2 separate regions of the Homo sapiens genome follow, and region 2 is linked to region 1. The links are contacts of gene promoters, found by promoter capture Hi-C in human tissues and cell types (Jung and others, 2019). All regions are on one chromosome and are shown on one strand. Each heading gives the region's core, a stretch centred on a gene start or on the middle of the fragment in contact. The rest is flanking DNA. Distances are from core to core; before and after follow the strand shown.

Evidence for each region. Contacts are between HindIII fragments. The study calls those that stand out against the background at their distance.
Region 2: a fragment that was not itself captured here is called in contact with the fragment with the promoter of CNOT10 in region 1 in 1 of the 25 tissues and cell types used here (bladder).

What each region holds. Positions count from the first base shown.
Region 1 is chr3:32,683,530-32,687,285 of GRCh38, forward strand. It overlaps CNOT10 (CCR4-NOT transcription complex subunit 10), which reads left to right and starts at 1,659. Exons shown (of 19, transcript NM_015442.3): 1 at 1,659-1,953. The coding sequence starts at 1,932. RefSeq lists a silencer at 1,460-1,769. The HindIII fragment of the contact is 8,061 bases long and covers 1-3,756 here.
Region 2 is chr3:33,763,441-33,767,706 of GRCh38, forward strand. No RefSeq gene overlaps it. Among named protein-coding and RNA genes, the nearest start is that of PDCD6IP-DT, 33 kb to the right of the region's middle. The HindIII fragment of the contact is 7,177 bases long and covers 1-4,266 here.

The DNA.
Region 1 (3,756 bases), core at 409-2,908:
TGATGAAAAGTCAATACACTGTACTTATGATTCATGCACTTTTCTTTGTGTATGTTAGCCTGAATTAAAAAGTTTAAGAAAAAACAAATACTTTTTTTTTTTTTTGAGACAGAGTCTCACTCTGTTGCCCAGGCTGGAGTGCAGTGGGGCAATCTTGGCTCACTGCAATCTCCGCCTCCCGGATTCAAGGGATTCTCCTGCCTGAGCCTCCCAAGTAGCTGGGATTACAGGTGCACACCACCACGCCCAGCTAATTTTTGTATTTTTAGTAGAGACGGGGTTTCACCATGTTGGCCAGGCTGGTCACAAACTCCTGACCTCAAGTGATCCACTTGCCTTGGCCTCCCAAAGTGCTGGGATTGCAGGTGTGAGCCACCACGCCCGGCCAAAAACAAATACTTTTTTAAAAGAAAGTTTAAAACAAAAGTTAAAAAAAAAGAAAAAAACAGGTACAAACCTGAAAAATCTCCCAATTAACAAAGCTGGGACAATTTTAGCAACAAAATAATGTAGTATTGGAATGTAACCATTATAAGATAAACATCCATGAGTCCATACTGATATAAATAGCTAAGTGAGGGAGAAGAGGCAAACTTCCCTTGGGGAAGATAATTTATGTACATACTCCCCACTGCAGGAGGTAGAGCTTAAATACCCCGCCTTCCCACCTTGAGTGTGGGTTGCATTTATTGACTTGGTTCCAAAGTAGTGTGGAAGGGTAGGAGGAGTAATTGCACAGTAGAGAAAACTGGCAAGCACTACCTTAGAGAGGTAATCAAGGTTAACATGATCAGTGATGTCATTTTGACAGCATGTACCCTTGATTCTATGTGATGAGAACAGCCAGTCACCTTGTGGTCTTCCTCCTAAACACCCAAAACCCCAGTCTAACCATGAGAAAAATATTGGCCAAACCCAAATTGAGGCACATTCCACCAAATATCTGAGGAGTAACTCTTCAAAACTGTCAAGGTCATCAAAAACAAGAAGAATCTGAGAAACTGCCACAGCCAAAAATAGCCTAAGACGACATAATGAATAAATGCAATATGGTGTCCTGGACAGGATCCTGGAACAACAACAAAAAAAGGACATTGAAAGAAAGCTGGTAAATGTGAATAAAATGTGTAGTTTAGTGAGTAATAGTGCGCCAATCAAACTGGTTTCTTAGATGTGATCAACGTAACATAGTAAAATAATTAAGATGTTCACAATAGGAGAAACTAGGTGAGGAGACAGGAACTCTAGGTGTCATCTTTGCAACTTTTCTGCACAACTACAACTATTCTAAAATAAAAGGCGTTTCTTTTTAAACGGGAATCCTCAACAGCGCCTCTCTCATGGGGTTGCAAGAAATCAATGAGATAGTACAGACCAAGTGCAGGGCTCAGTGCTTAGCACATAAATGTCAGATGTGGTTATTGTAATATTATGTAACATTGAGGGACAAAAGCTCTGACACCTCGGTGTTTTAATTAGAGTAAGCAAAGGACAGACGCGCGTACGTCCCACCGCGTCAGCCCTGTGAACATCCAGAGGTTCCAGCCAGAGTACGTCCGGCCGGAGGCGGGGCGCGGAGGGGACGTCGGCGTGGGGCGGGGCCAGTAGCAGTTCCCACGCCGGCGCTCCAGGCGCGGCAGGCTGCCGCCCCCGGAAGTAGTGGGTACCGGGACGCCGTGAGGCGGAAGCTGTGTATGGCGGGAGGCTGTGGCGGTCCCTTGGTGGGGAAGCTGTTGCTGTTGCTAGACGACGGGAACTAGCTCTCGTCACTTCCTCAGCCCGCCGTCTGCCCACTCCTCTAGCCGGAACCTGGGGGCCCGGAGCCGGGGTAGGCACAGAGTTGTCCTCGGAGGTCCAGGACAGCGGCCAGCCCGGCGGCGGGAGTCAGGGCCACGCCACCTGCAGGGAAGAACCCGAGTCGAAGCGGGAAGATGGCTGCAGACAAGCCTGCAGGTAGGGCGCCAATGTCCCGAGCGACGAGACGGCGGGACGTGCGGGGCCGGGCGGACCCTGAACTCGGAGGCGGCGGGGCCCGGGGTGGGGACTCCAGGGCGACTTGAATTTGGGCGTGCATTTCTTTACCCCATCCTCTGTCTCGGCTGTCGCTAACATGAGTCTTCGGGCCCCGGGTCCAATAGTTGTTTTACTCAAGTGCAGTATTTGAAGTCGCCACTGGCCGCCTTTGCCCTGCTCTTCAGAATAACTCCGGCCCAAAAAGCTTAAATGTATTTTGCCGCTTCGCAGAATTTTCCGCTTCTTCGTGGGAAAAGCAGACAAGAGAAAGTCACCCTGGAGCACACATCTGCCTATAATATCGCGTGGCTGAGGCTGGGATTCACCTGGGCTGTTTTGACCACATGTGGCTTCCTCTGGTCATTGACTCCTGTGAAATTAACTTTGTAAAAACCACTTTTTTTTTTCTTGATAGAGACGGGCGGGGGTCTCGCTATGGTGCCCAGGCTGATCTCGAACTTCTGGGCCCAAGCGATCCTTCCGCCTTGGCCTCTCAAAGTAAACCACTTATTTAAAAAGGCATAAAATCCTATTGTCTCTCTACAGTCTGTGCTCCTAAAATCTTGCATTTGGTACTTAATTGCTCTAGTTCCTCGAAATTACTTAATCTCAATGGTTTTCTTTATGGATTATTGCTCCCATTCCTAGAATCTTCCACATTAAGGAATATAAAATTATTTCCTGACCTTGTCCGGAATGTTTCCCGCAAGAAATTCATATTCTTTGTGGCATCCAGGTTTTATTGGAAAGAACTTAAGTGACAGGATTTAAAAGTGATGGAACTTAAAATTTTTACAGTGAATTTAATTTAAAATTAAAGAAAAACTCAGTGTGCTGTGGATTTTAGTAGGTTCTGGTCACAATAACTGACAAATGAACTTCACTTGGAAATTAAGCCAATTCTATTTTAGGTACAGAGGAATAAAAATCATTAGAGGATCTCTTCAATAATCTAAGAAGAAAAACAACAGAACAAAGGCCTTGAGAGGGTATAAGGAATGTGCTGTGAAATTTTGGATAGGTTGTTCAGGGAAGGCCTCTGGTGAGATGATATTTGAGCAGAGATATGTAAGAAGTGAGGGAATGAGCCATAAGAAATGAGGAAAGGTGGATGAGGGAGAGACTATTAGACAGGAAAACGGCATGGCCTGTCCAAGGCTGGACCAGGGGACCAACATCTTCCTCCTTATTTTAGAATAGTGTCTGTGTTCCCCACATTTACCATTCCTACTTGCTCATACCATTGCGCTTGCCCGAAATCACCCTTTTAGACCTAAAGCCCATCCAGTTTTCAAATCCTCAGTCATAAAGCCTTCTACTTGTTCATTTATTCATTCGCAAAGATTGAGTGTTGAATAATGGATATGACACACTCCCTGCCTTTGAAGACCTGCTGTTCAGTCTGTTGGAGGAGACAGGCATATCCTAGCTGCACTCCTGTTTGGTAAGAGCTGTGTAATGTGTGTAGTTGAAGAATAAGGTCCACAGTGATTAGGGGACTGTTTTTTTCATTGGTTTAAGTTTATAGGCCATATTGAAGGAAACTTCCTGCTTTGATATAAGGTTAAATTTGAATAAAATAGATGAGTGTTTAGTGTAGCTCCTTTGAATCTCTGCTCATCTCCATCTCATCTGCTGTGTTTCTGGCCTTTATCTTTTAATATGATCTATGTCGCATTGAGTAGTCTTCTCACTGGTGTTTGTCTCTTGTCTCTTCCTATCCCATCCATTTTCCTCACTGTC
Region 2 (4,266 bases), core at 363-2,862, 1.1 Mb after region 1:
TTATCAGGTTTCCTCTGATACTGCACCAGTCAGGGGAAGGTTGATGCGCCTTGTTACTGCCAAGTGGAAGTGAAGGTTCAAGCTTTTCATGTGGTCTCCCCCGAAAATGTGGAGAATGGAGGGGCTTGTTACTGCATGATTAGGGTGACAATCCTAGGTGCCCCACCTGGTCTTCTCTGACACCATCACAGTGTTGGGGGAGGAGGAGAGGAGGAATACCTCATGCCAGCTGGGTGAGAGTGGAAGTCTACAAGGGTGGGGATGGGGACCTCAATTTTTCCTGTGGCATTTCACTACAGTAGGACAATTATTGTCTAAGTTTTCTCTCTTGCTAGGTTTCTCTTGTTCTTTCCCTTGGTGAGAAAGAACAGGCTTTTCTTGGACATTTTTCCCCTTTTATTTATGTCTGTTGGCATTTCTGGTTGCCATATATATATATATATGGTTCAGCCTAATGGCTGGCACATAGTAAGTGCTCGATACAGCATTGAGCTATTATTATTTACAACATAGCATAACCTAGATATAAACCAGATTGTACCAACCCATGGATCAGCAGGCTGTCACTTCTTGTTTCAACGTTTTGCACTATCTAATATATTGCAGAAGACAGTATCTCAAGTCCACTTCTGAATAACCCACACTTGAATCCAACCTTTCCTGTTTGCCACCTTATGGTCTCAATTCTCAGCACCAAAACTGGCCCTTTCCTGCTAGTCACCATTTCCCATATCATAACTGCCCCAGGTAGTTGCAGCCCTCTGCTTCATCAAGTGTTCAAAGATGTCTTGCTTCAGTTTCCCCCACAGCACCTCATATATCAGGCTTACCAAAAGTTTTAGCATATTATTAGAGTATTGTTATAGAAAAAAATAAAACATTAAAACTGTTTACCAAGGCCAAGTGCAGTGGCTTACACCTGTAACCCCAGCACTTTGGGAGGCTGAGGTGGGAGGATTGCTTGAGGCCAGGAGTTTGGGACCAGCTTGGGCAACATAGTGAGACCCTGTCTCTACAAAAAAATAAAAAAATTAGCTGGGCATGCTGATGTGCACGTGTAGTCCCTTCTAATTGGGAAGCTGAGGGGGAGGATGGCTTGAGCCCAGGAGTTTGAGGCTGCAGTGAGCCATGATTGTGCCACTGCTCTCCAGCCTGGGTGACAGAGCGAGACCCTGTTTCAAAAAATAAAATAAAGGCCGGGAGTGATGGCTCACGCCTGTAATCCCAGCACTTTGGGAGGCTGAGGAGGGCAGATCACAAGGTCAGGAGATCGAGACCATCCTGGCTAACACGGTGAAACCTCATCTCTACTAAAAAATGGAAAAAATTAGCTGGTGCGTGGTGGTGGGCACCTGTAGTCCCAGCTACTCGGGAGGCTGAAGCAGGAGGATGGTGTGAACCCGGGAGGCAGAGCTTGCAGTGAGCCTAGATCACGCCACTGCACTCCAGCCTGGGCGACAGAGAGAGACCCTGTCTCAAAAAAATAAAATAAAATAAAATAAAATAAAAATTGTATATCATCAGTCATCATTACTCCTAAATCATCCATACTGTAAAATGTTGATTATTTTGTATCAACTAACACTCTTTGCTTTATTTTTGTCTTTTGCTTTATAGGTTGTTAGAACTGTACTGTTTTCCCTAATAACCTATAAAGCGAAAGACAAAAATTATGGCTATAATTTTTCAAACAGCAATATTTTTTCTTGTCCCTACAATACTAGAAACAGCCTACAACAAGGGAGTATTAAAAATATCTTTAAACAAATTTTTATTTTAGGTTTGGGAGTATATGTGAAGGTTTGTTACATAGATAAACACATGTCATGGGGGTTTGTTGCAGATATTATTATATCACCCAGGTATTAAGCTCAGTACCCAATAGTTACCATTTCTGCTCCTCTTCCCCCTCCCCCCTCCCACCTCAAGTAGACTTCAATCTGTTGAAAAACATCTTTTAAAGTATGTTTTTTTCTGTGTCATTCCACCATGGATTTAAGCATCTTAAGGTAACATCTAATTAATAACTTCCTAAAGGCTTAATTAATAAACAGATGTAAACATCTTAAGACATAACTAATAAATAATTATGTAACTCTAATTTATATAACTTCATATCCTCCAAACAGAGACACATTTTCTTTTTATGTGGCCAAGAAATATTTACAAGGCATGATGAATATAATAGTCCATATAAAATAATCAGGCTGGGCATTTTGGCTCACGCCTGAAAGAAATTGAAGAGGACACCAAAAAATGGAAAAATATTCCAATGTTCATAGATTGGAAGAATAAATATTGTTAAAATATACATACTACTCAAAGCAATCTATAAATTCAATGCAATCTCTATCAAAATACAAGTGACATTCCACATATGTTTACTGCAGCACTGTTCACAATAGCAAAGACTTGGAACCAACCCAAATGCCCATCAATGATAGACTAGATAAAGAAAATGTGGCACATATACACCATGTAATACTATGCAGCCATAAAAAAGGATGCATTCATGTCCTTTGCAGGTATGTGGATGAAGCTGGAAACCATCATTCTCAGCAAATTAACACAAGAACAGAAAACCAAATACCGCATGTTCTCACTCATAAGTGGGAGTTGAACAATCAGAACACATGGACACAGGGAAGGGAACATCACACACTGGGGCCTGTTGGGGGGTGGGAAGCTAGGGGAAGGATAGCATTAGGATAAATACCTAATGTAGATGATGGGTTGATGGGTGCAGCAAACTACCATGGCACGTGTATACCTATGTAACAAACCTGCAGGTTCTGCACATGTATCCCAGAACTTAAAGTATCATTTATAAAAAGACAAAAAGATAAAAAATAATTTGTAAAATATGTTAATGGATACACAATAAAAAGCATGTAATTTGTGACATCAAAAACAAAACAAAAAACAAAATACCCAGTGACATTCTTCACAGAAAGAGAAAAAAAAAATCCCAAAATTTATATGGAACCACAAAAGACCCAGAACAGCAAAGCTATCCTAAGCAAAAAGAATGAAACTGGAGGAATAAAAAGAGCTATAGTAACCAAAACAGCATGGTACTGGAATAAAAACAGACACATAGACCAATGGAACAGAGTAGAGAACTCAGAAACAAATCAAAACACGTACAGTGAACTCATTTTTGACAAAGGTGCCAAGAAAATACATTGAGGAAGGCAGTCTCTTCAATAAATGGTGTTGGGAAAACTGGATATCCATATGCAGAGGGATGAAATTAAACTCCTATCTCTTGCCATATGCAAAATGACATAAAAATGGATTAAATGCTTAAATCTAAGACCTCAAAGTATGAAACTACTACAAGCTAACATTGGGGAAAATCTCCAGGACATTGATCTGGGCAAAAATTTCTTGAGTGGTACCCCATGAGTATAGGCAACCAAAGCAAAAATGGACATACCATATATGATACATATGATATGTATCATATATGATATAATATATATTATATTATAAAACATATCATATGTTTGCATATATATAGTATCATATATATATGCAAACTGCCCATCTGACAAAGAATTAATAACCTGAATGTATAAGGAGCTCAAACAACTCTATAGGAAAAAAATCTAATATTCTGATCAAAATGGGCAAAAGATTTTAATAGACATTTCTCAAAAGAAGACACACAAATGGCAAACAGGTATACAAAAAGGTGCTCAATATCACTGATCATCAGAGAAATGCAAATAAAAAATACAATGAGATATCATCTCACTCTAGTTAAAATGACTTATATCCAAAAGACAGGCAATACCAAATGCTGGCAAGGATATAGAGAAAAGAGAACCCTTGACATCATTGGTGGGAATATAAGTTAGTACAACCACCACTGGAAAACAGTTTAGGTATCTCAAAAACTAAAAAATGAGCTACTATATGATCCTGCAATTCCACTGCTGGGTTTATACCCCAAAGAAAGGAAATCAGTATATTGAAGAGAGATACCTGCACTCCCATGTTTGTTGCAGCACTGTTTACAATGGCTAAGATTTGGAAGCAACCTAAGAGTCCATAACAGATGAATGGATAAGGAAAATGTGGTACTTAGACACAGTGGAGTACCATTCAGCCATAAAAAGAATGAGATCCTGTCATTTACAACAACATGGATGGAACTGGAGATCATTATGTTAAGTGAAATAAGCCAGGCACAGAAAGACAAACATCACTTGTTCTCACTTATTTGTGGGATCTAAAAATCAAAACAGTTGAACTCATGAA